Linked DNA regions of Homo sapiens: all the other regions are linked to region 2. The links are contacts of gene promoters, found by promoter capture Hi-C in blood cells and fetal thymus (Javierre and others, 2016). All regions are on one chromosome and are shown on one strand. The core of a region is centred on a gene start or on the middle of the fragment in contact, and the rest is flanking DNA. Distances in the headings are between cores, read along the strand shown. Region 1 holds the start of LOC107986759 (a long non-coding RNA gene). Region 2 holds the start of TTYH3 (tweety family member 3). Region 3 overlaps IQCE (IQ motif containing E).

Evidence for each region. Contacts are between HindIII fragments. The CHiCAGO score rates a contact against its expected background, and 5 or more counts as called.
Region 1: a fragment that was not itself captured here is called in contact with the fragment with the promoter of TTYH3 in region 2 in 4 of 17 cell types (neutrophils, monocytes, M0 macrophages and 1 more); the score reaches 9.8 in neutrophils.
Region 3: a contact is called between a fragment that was not itself captured here and the fragment with the promoter of TTYH3 in region 2, in 4 of 17 cell types (monocytes, M1 macrophages, M0 macrophages and 1 more). The highest score is 9.5, in monocytes.

What each region holds. Positions count from the first base shown.
Region 1 is chr7:2,508,132-2,510,831 of GRCh38, forward strand. LOC107986759 (a long non-coding RNA gene) reads right to left here and starts at 940. Exons shown (of 3, transcript XR_001745066.2): 1 at 599-940. RefSeq lists enhancers at 1-485, 1-359 and a silencer at 5-158. The HindIII fragment of the contact is 4,512 bases long and covers 1-2,700 here.
Region 2 is chr7:2,630,663-2,633,362 of GRCh38, forward strand. It overlaps TTYH3 (tweety family member 3), which reads left to right and starts at 1,324. Exons shown (of 14, transcript NM_025250.3): 1 at 1,324-1,616. The coding sequence starts at 1,494. RefSeq lists enhancers at 749-1,480, 2,213-2,700 and a silencer at 1,265-1,674. The HindIII fragment of the contact is 11,109 bases long and covers 1-2,700 here.
Region 3 is chr7:2,565,616-2,568,315 of GRCh38, forward strand. It overlaps IQCE (IQ motif containing E), which reads left to right. Exons shown (of 22, transcript NM_152558.5): 2 at 1,501-1,548. Among named protein-coding and RNA genes, the nearest start is that of IQCE, 8.0 kb to the left of the region's middle. RefSeq lists enhancers at 937-1,116, 1,228-1,830, 1,397-1,446, 1,647-1,816, 1,831-2,432. The HindIII fragment of the contact is 1,425 bases long and covers 671-2,095 here.

The DNA.
Region 1 (2,700 bases), core at 124-2,623, 120 kb before region 2:
AGTCACATGTTAGGATGAATGCAAACACTGGGGAAGCTGACCCCACTTCTTGAAGCAAAACCTTCCTGATGGGGCCCAACCTCCTGTCCAAGGTTGCCGCCACTACGCTGGGCAGAAAACATGTGTTAGGGCCATGCCCCAGCCCGAGCGAGGCCTGGCCCTGGCCTCCCACCTTGGCCTGTTCGTCTTACCCCCATCAAGCAGGAGGCCAGCCCGACCCGCCTCCTCCTTCCGGAGTCTCCAGCTGTACAAGGGGAGGGAGCCATCTCGGGGCAGCCGGGTCGGGCTCTGGGTGTGTGCACACAGGGACACACGTGTCCCTGCACATGGCCAGCCCACATGTGCAGAGTGGCAGCGCGCCATGCTCCCCACGGGCTCACCCGTGCTTCCGCACACACGCGTGAAGCACGTAAGCACCGCACGATCACAGGCCCCTCTCGCGCTCCGAGGCATGTGCCGGCCGGCATGCATCCTGCCAGGGAATCTGCGTCTCTGTCGGTGACATACTCCGTTTCCTGCCACAGCCCTGGTATGCCCCAGGAGTAATTACTAACAGAGTTCCCTCCCAGCCTTGAAAGACGATATACTATGTGGTCACCTCTGTCTGGGCCACCAAGAGGATCCCAGCTGGGCTTTTGCTGAGCGGGGCACAAAAGCCATCAGGAGCCAGTCTTGGGGACTACAGCTGGGGGTCGGTGACCTTGATCAGGCCCAGGGAGGCTGAGAGGAGTCTCGCCCACGCTGCACCCACAGCCCCGCTCATTCCACACCTGAGTCTTCAGAGAAGGAAATGCAAGACCGTGCAGTTAGGACCTGGAATTGTCAGCCTGTCCCCATCCTGCCAGCGGGGATTGGCCTGTGGTTTTGTCAGCTGCCAGCCAGCGGCTGAGGACCAGCCCTGCAATCTGAGTGGGGGCCTGTGGGAGGATGCAGCTGAGGGGAGTGGCGAAGCTGAAGAAACTCTCGAGAAAGGTGGGAGGGGCCGGGGCAGTGTCAGGGCCGCTGTGCACATCCGTGCAGGTCGTGCACTGACTGGCAGCACACATCTGAGATCCAGCCCGTGCTCCGCTCATCGGGTTGTGAAGAAGCAGTACCTCTTTCCAAGCAGTGGCCCAGGCAGTAAGCGGAGCATCTGGCAGGCGGGGTCCACACTTCCCCAAGACCCTGTGCTGGCTGTGGCTGTATGTGCACACTTCTACATGACTTGCAGGGTGCCCAAACGGCCCGGAGGAGGCCGGGACCCCAGCCCCCAGGCCAGGGCTCCCGTGAGTAGGGAGACGCATCACTCTCTGGCCCCGGAGGCTGTGCTTCCCAGGCCATCACAATGGCCACACAACAGGGGCCCTCAGGGACGGAACCTAATCTTGAGCTATTGAAGACCTGAAAGCCGTGGCCCCTGGCCCGAGCCAGCAGACGCGCCTGCCGGCCCCACCAGAGACACCTGATCCACCGGTCGCCCCGCCACAAAGGGGGACACTGTCCCCCCAGGGCCGCCCGCCCCACCAACAGAGACAAGGAGGAAAACTGGGTCGCTGAGATAGAGTGACAGCCATGGCAGGTGGGGATGAGACAGGAGGGAGGGGCGGCCACCACTGGGCACAGCCCAGCCTCTGGGGATGCCCCAGGCCTGAAGATCTGCCCGAGGGGGGCTCAGAGCCCCGAGGAGGGCTCAAGTGACTGCCGGTTTGCAGGGAGTGGGGTGGAGGCTGGAGTGGGGGGCGCAGCTGAGACCAGAAAGAAACAGCTAGGACCCCACCTGAGGCTGGAGACACAGCCAGGACAGGGGACTCTCCACCCAGAGAGACGCCATAGGCCAGGTTGTTGGGGACAGGCCTGGACTGGTCCCCAGGCCCCACCCTGCTGAGGCAGGCCAGCCAGCTGCCCACCCCTTGGCCTGGGCATGTCCAGCTTTTGCTCAGTTTCCCAGCCTGGCAGGGCTTTCCGAGGGGTTGCAGGGAGAAGCAGGCCTGGCCAAAAGACCGCCATGCCTGAAGGTTCACCTTCACCCCCTGGCACCACCAAAGACCCCGCCCAGGGGAAGTCTTGGAGCCTCAGCGCCTCAGAACTTTGGGACTTCCTGGCATATGGGAGGCACCCGGAGGTGTGAGCCTGAGGGGTTCACTTTCAAGGGTGGCTGGAGACACCTGCTGCTGGCCATGTGGGCCTGGGAGGCCTTCTGGGGCCTCCATCTTCCCATCTGTGAAATGGGACTTGGACCTAGATGCTCTTCAAGGTCCCTTCTTCCAAGTCTTCTGGCAAGAGCCAAGTCCAGGAAGCTCAGCTCCATTGCGTCGGCATCTGGACTGAGTACTCTGTGGGTGCCGGGCTGTGCTGAGGGCTGGACGGGACCCAGGAACAGACAACAGGTAGAGTGGAGGAGGGAGCAGCGAGGAGACTTCCCACAGGGGTGGAGACGCTGAGCACTCCAGGCAGACACAGAGGGGCGGCTGGAGTGTGGGGATCCTGGGCCTGGCAGGGCCTGGGGGGTTCGGCAGGCAGAGTGGGCCAGGGGGTGGCCTGAGGACGCCAGGGGCAGAGCCAGCCCTCCCAACTGGGCAGTGGGGAGCCAAGGGAGGGTGGCAGAGCCGAGCCCCATCTCTAAGATATGGGGACAGCCCTCAGAGCCAGCTCCCACCCAGCTCCAGCTCAGGACAAGCAGTGGGCATGGAACTGAGATGCAGGAAGGCCGAGGTCTGGAGA
Region 2 (2,700 bases), core at 74-2,573:
CAAAGGAGGAGGCACAGGCATGGGGAGGCCCTGTTAGGAAATTTGGCTGTGTGGCTCCAAAGCCCATGATGGGCCCTCTCTGGCAGGTGCCTGAATTTTTAGGCCCCAGGACACCAGAACAGGGCACCGTCTTCATCTTAGGTCTTGACAAAAGACTCAACCTTCCCCAGAGGGAAGGCCGGATGGGGACTGAATCTACCTGCGGATCCACTTAACACTCGTACCTTTTTAAAAAAAATTTTTTTTATTTTTGAGATGGAGTCTCACTCTGTTGCCCAGGTTGGAGTGCAGTGGCGCAATCTCCACTCACCGCAACCTCCATCTCGCAGGTCCAAGCAATTCTCCTCCCTCAGCTTCCAGAGTAACTGGGATTACAGGCGCCCGCCACCACGCCTGGCTAATTTTTGTATTTTTAGTAGAGACGGGGTTTCACCATTTTGGCCAGGCTGGTCTCGAACTCCTGACCTCAGGTGATCCGCCTGCCTCGGCCTCCCAAAGTGCTGGGATTACAGGCATGAACCACCACCACGCCCTGCCAACACTCGTAGCTTTATCATCCCCTTTTACAGACAAGGACACCGATGCACAGAGTGGTTAAGTAACTTGCCCCAGATCACACAGCTCTAGGTGCCCCAGCCAGGCCCTGAATCCAGATCATGTCCATTGTACAGATAGGCCACTCGGTGCCTTGCTGGGCGCTGCGGGCTGTGGGCTGTTGTGTGTGCAATGGGGAGGCCAAGACCAGCCCAGCCCACCAGGCCGGACCCTCGAGTCAAATAAGAAACATGCAAAGATCCAAACGAAGAGCGAATTCATGGAATGAAGCGCAGCTGCATATGCAGCCAGGGTTCCAGCCCCCACGGCCACGTGGAAAGACTGGCTGGCCCGGGTCTTACAGCGCTGAGGGTCGGTCTTCCAGCGCCTTAGGGGCCAGGCGTCCCTCCAAGAAGGCGAGGAAGTAGGCGGAGCTTCTGCCGGCGGACTAATGACGGTACAGAGGCGGGGCCGAAGGGCGGGGACACGTGGAGGGGCGGGGCCATTGGGTAATGGGCGGGGATGCGAGTGGAGGGGCAAAACCATCAGGTAAAAGGACCAATAGAGGTTCAGGAGCGAGTGGGCGGGGCACGCTGTGGGGCGGGATCGGCGGGGGATAGACCAATGGTGGGTAAGAGGCGGGACAGAGGGCGGGGCGCGCGGGGGCTGGGCTGGCGGGAGGCGGGCCAATGGAGGCTCGGGGGCGGGGCCGGCGGGCGGACGGGCGGGGGTGCGGAGGGGGCGGCGGCGGCGGCGGCGAACAAAGAGGCGGCGGGCGCGGGCGGCCGAGCGGAGCCGAGCGCAGCCGAGCCGGGCCGAGCCGGGCCGGGCCGGGCCCAGGAGCGCGCGGATGATGCGGGCGGCCAGGCGGGGGTCGACGGGTCCCTGAAGCCCGCGCCCCGGGCCAGCAAGGGAGCCCCGCGCAGGCCGCGCGCATCCGGAGGCGGCCGGGCCCCGCCATGGCCGGGGTCAGCTACGCGGCGCCCTGGTGGGTGAGCCTCCTGCACCGGCTGCCCCACTTCGACCTGAGCTGGGAGGCCACTAGCAGCCAGTTCCGGCCCGAGGACACCGACTACCAGCAGGTGACATGGGCCTCTCGGGGTCGCGGGGTCAGGGACCCCAGGTCACGGCCCCCTCCTCTCCCAGGGTCACGGCCCCCATCCCCGAGGGCCTAAAGACCCCTCATCCCCCCCTCCAGGGTCACGGCCACCTCCTCCTCGCAGGTACCGGCCTCCTTCCTTCTCGAGGGTCCCTTCTGAGTCCTAGGACCCTTTCTTCCAGGGTCATGGCCTCCTCCTCAAAGGTCTAAATACCCTCCAACCCCCAGTGAGGGTCCACGGCCCCCCTCCCGATTCTGGCCTTCCCTTCTGGTGTCACTAAGGCCCCTGGGTTTCATGGAGCTGCCTCTCCCCACTCCGTGAGCCCCCTTGGCCAGTGGAGGGCCTCTCCACCATCACTGTTGGCGGCCTGGTGCTGTGTCCCAGCAGAGACCCCTCCCCAGATGACCCCCAGGCTCTGAGATCAGAGCGGGTGCCTGAGCACATTGGGTGCAGGCAGGCAGAGACTCCTCGCCCACTCACCCCCGACTGGGGAATCCCACTGCCAGGCTTCCAGTGGGTGAATGGCCTGGGCCGCCGCCAGCCCTCTGTGGCCGGTAATGACCCCCTGCTTGGCGGTCAGGCTGTGGGATGTACACAGGGTGCCGTGTGTGGCCGTGGGAGACCAGGCTGCCTGTAGCCCCCGGGGGAGGGAGGCCCGGCGGCCAGGAAGCACCGTGGGCCTCAGGCAGGGAGGCTGGAAGCGGCTGAGCCCAGGCAGACCTGGGGGGCGGCTGGGGGCCCTTTGCAGCCCTCTCCCAGGGGAGCCCTTAGCCTGGCATCATGCCAGGCCCCAGCACCACCCCCATCGCCAAGCTACTGTCATTTGAGTGCGGGGCAGGGGACCAAGCTGTGGGCATTTCCTTCCTGCCTAGAGATCCGGATTCCAGAAGCCCCGTGACCAGGGTCCCTGGTCACCCGGAGTTTCTCTCTGGACGGATCATGGCAGAGCCCCATGGTGGGGTGGGGATGGCTTTGCTTATCAAAATGGCTTGGGAATCCGGTATTCCGCGGGCAGCCTAGCACCTGGACTCTTCAGAACTGCGTTGTCTGTGGCCTCCCGCATCCA
Region 3 (2,700 bases), core at 133-2,632, 65 kb before region 2:
GTGATGCCCAGGGCTGACTTGGCTTTTCTGATCCCCCGCTAACCTGTGTGTCCAGTTCCCGGCCTGCCCTTCCTCAATTTTGTGCATAATTTCAATACACTTTGCTAAAAGGAAAACTTCTCTCTATAATTGTCATATGCTGTTTATGTCTTAAAAGGTCACCTTAAATAGGTGATATAAAAAATGATATAAAAAATTTCAGTCAATGGCTGATTTTTTTAAACGCTCCATTTATTTGGAATGCACCGTCTTTCCTTTGCCCCTCGAAATGCAGTCACATTGCACTTGTGTCCTGGCCTGTCTAGTTGCACCTTATCCATGTTATCATGCAGCCAGGCATTTCTAATACAGTTTCACACTGCTAGCAAAATTGGCACTTCATGTACTATTAGCCTTGTAGAAAATAAGTTTGCTTTTCAGAACGCAGTAGCATCCCATTATGATACTGCGTGGACTCAGCTATACCAGGGACAGGTAGCACAAATGTCATCACCTCCACCCCAAGCTGTAGAACTATTGGCTCATAATGGGGCATTCAGCTCTAACTTCCAGTGTCCGCATTGGAAAGCACCAATATGATCTTCCGAGGGACTTTAAACATTTTATGCTTCTCTTTTTGGATTTCAATTTGAGTGAATGAGTTAATACAGAAACACTTTTGTCTTCAAAAAGCTTCCTTTTTTTTTTTTTTTGGCCATCCTCGTGCTGAAATCAGACAGTACAAGTCTTATTTCATTCCCTGGACCAGGACAAAGTCACTGGAATAAGAAGGCAAGAACCTTTATAGGCCCAAATGCCTTCTCATTGTAATGCATATGTTTTGGTTTTTGTTGGTTTTCGTTTTTTTTTTTTTTTTTTTTCCCAGCTGGGGTCTTGCTCTGTTGCCCAGGCTGGAGTGCAGTGGCATGATTATGACTCACTGCAGCCTCGACCTCCTAGGCTCAAGCGATCCTCCCACCTTAGCCTCCCGAGTAGCTGGGACTACAGGTGTGTGCAACCACAGCCTGGCTTATTTTTTAAATTTTTAAGATTTTTTTTGTAGAGACAGTGTCTCACCATGTTGCCCAGGCCGAGTTTGCTTTTTAAAAGATGACTCTCACCCGTTCTTACCAGGAGACAGTCACAGATTCGTTGTGCTTTGATGTAAAGATGAATAAGAGTGAGAACATTTATGTAAAAATGAAATGCTTTCAGCAAGAACTGGTTTTGTTTTTCTTTGTCAAGACACAATTCTGTGGGAAATAGTGTTACTAGATTTGCAGACATTTGCACGCCTGCTGGGCGGCGTTTTGTGTTTTGTTCCCCCCACCCACCCATTCCTTCTGATGAGACTGAGGAACTGGCTGCTGCCCAGCTGGAGTGTTCTGAGTGGCCTCAGAGCTGGATTTCTGGAGTTTCTGTTTCAGCAGCTGTGGACGGGCTGTTTTCGCTTTTGTAAACGTGATGGTCGGAAGCCCAGCAGGTGCCGTCGAGTTACAGTGTTTGCCTCTCTTCCTCCAGGGAGATGACAGTCTGTCTGCAGTCACCTTTGACTCTGATGTGGAGACGGTGAGTGCCGCTGGGTGTCAGCCGTGCGACCTCGGGCTGGTTGCGCTGCCCTTGCAGACTGCACTCGGAAGCGTAAAATAGGCCGTTCTCCACAATACTGTGTCGAGAGCTGGAATGCATATTCCGAATGCTCCTTGGTGTTTGAAAAGTTTCCAGCCCTTAGGTTTAAATACCTGTGGTGATAACTTTAAAACTTTTATCTGGACGTGAATCCTGAGCAGGGCTCATGTGAGACAGATTGCTAGTCCCTGGCCTGCAGCTGGTTTTGCCCTGCACCCCACGCCCTCATCCTGACACTTGAGGGGAGGAGGAGAGCCCCTGCTAATGCCGTCGGAAGGACCCGATGGGAGAAAGCAGACCTGGGCAGCCGCCATCCCAAGCTGAACTGCTGCCTGGCCTCCCAGCCCGGAAAGGAGAGGGGCAGGAGTGGTGTCCGATGGCCCAGTGGCACACTATGGCCCCGGACTGGGCTTTGGGTTTGTTTGGCAAGCTGTGCTGGGTAGAAAAGGAAGTGTGCCAATTGCTCTTCTCGTGTATGAGCGAAAAAAGCTTTTCTTACTGGAGACGCAGATCTAGCAAACCTGCAGCCAGCAGAACGAACCCGGCACCAGCAGATCTCAATTCCACGTTTGCTCTGTGGACTCAAGGGGGAGCCTCAGCTCCACTGTCTCCCTCCAGGGACCTCTGTTCGCAAAGTTAAGGATTTTCCCTCCATGTCACAGAGGGCAGGGGATGCTCCTCTGATGTTCCCCGGAGGAGGAGGGATCCAAACCAAGCCCCAGGGAAAATTCCCCCCGCGCAGAACTTGGGGCTCAATGTTTCTGCTGGAGGGGAAGTGAGGAGACCTGGCCGCGGTAGCCTTATCTGCTCGGTCTAGTGCAAGGTGATGAGGAAGTTAAGGTTGGAAGCATGGCAGCATCTTCCCCAGGCCACGGCACGACGGGTTGTGTGTCTCTAATGCAAAATCCAAAATGCTCCAAAAATGGAAACTTTTTGAGCACCCTCATGAGGCCACAAGTGGGAAATTCCACCCTTAAGTACTTCACACAAGCTTTGTTTCATGCACAAAGTTATTAAAAACACAATATAAAATTACCATTGCACTATGGGTATAATGTATATATGAAACATAAATGAATTTTGTGTTTAGAC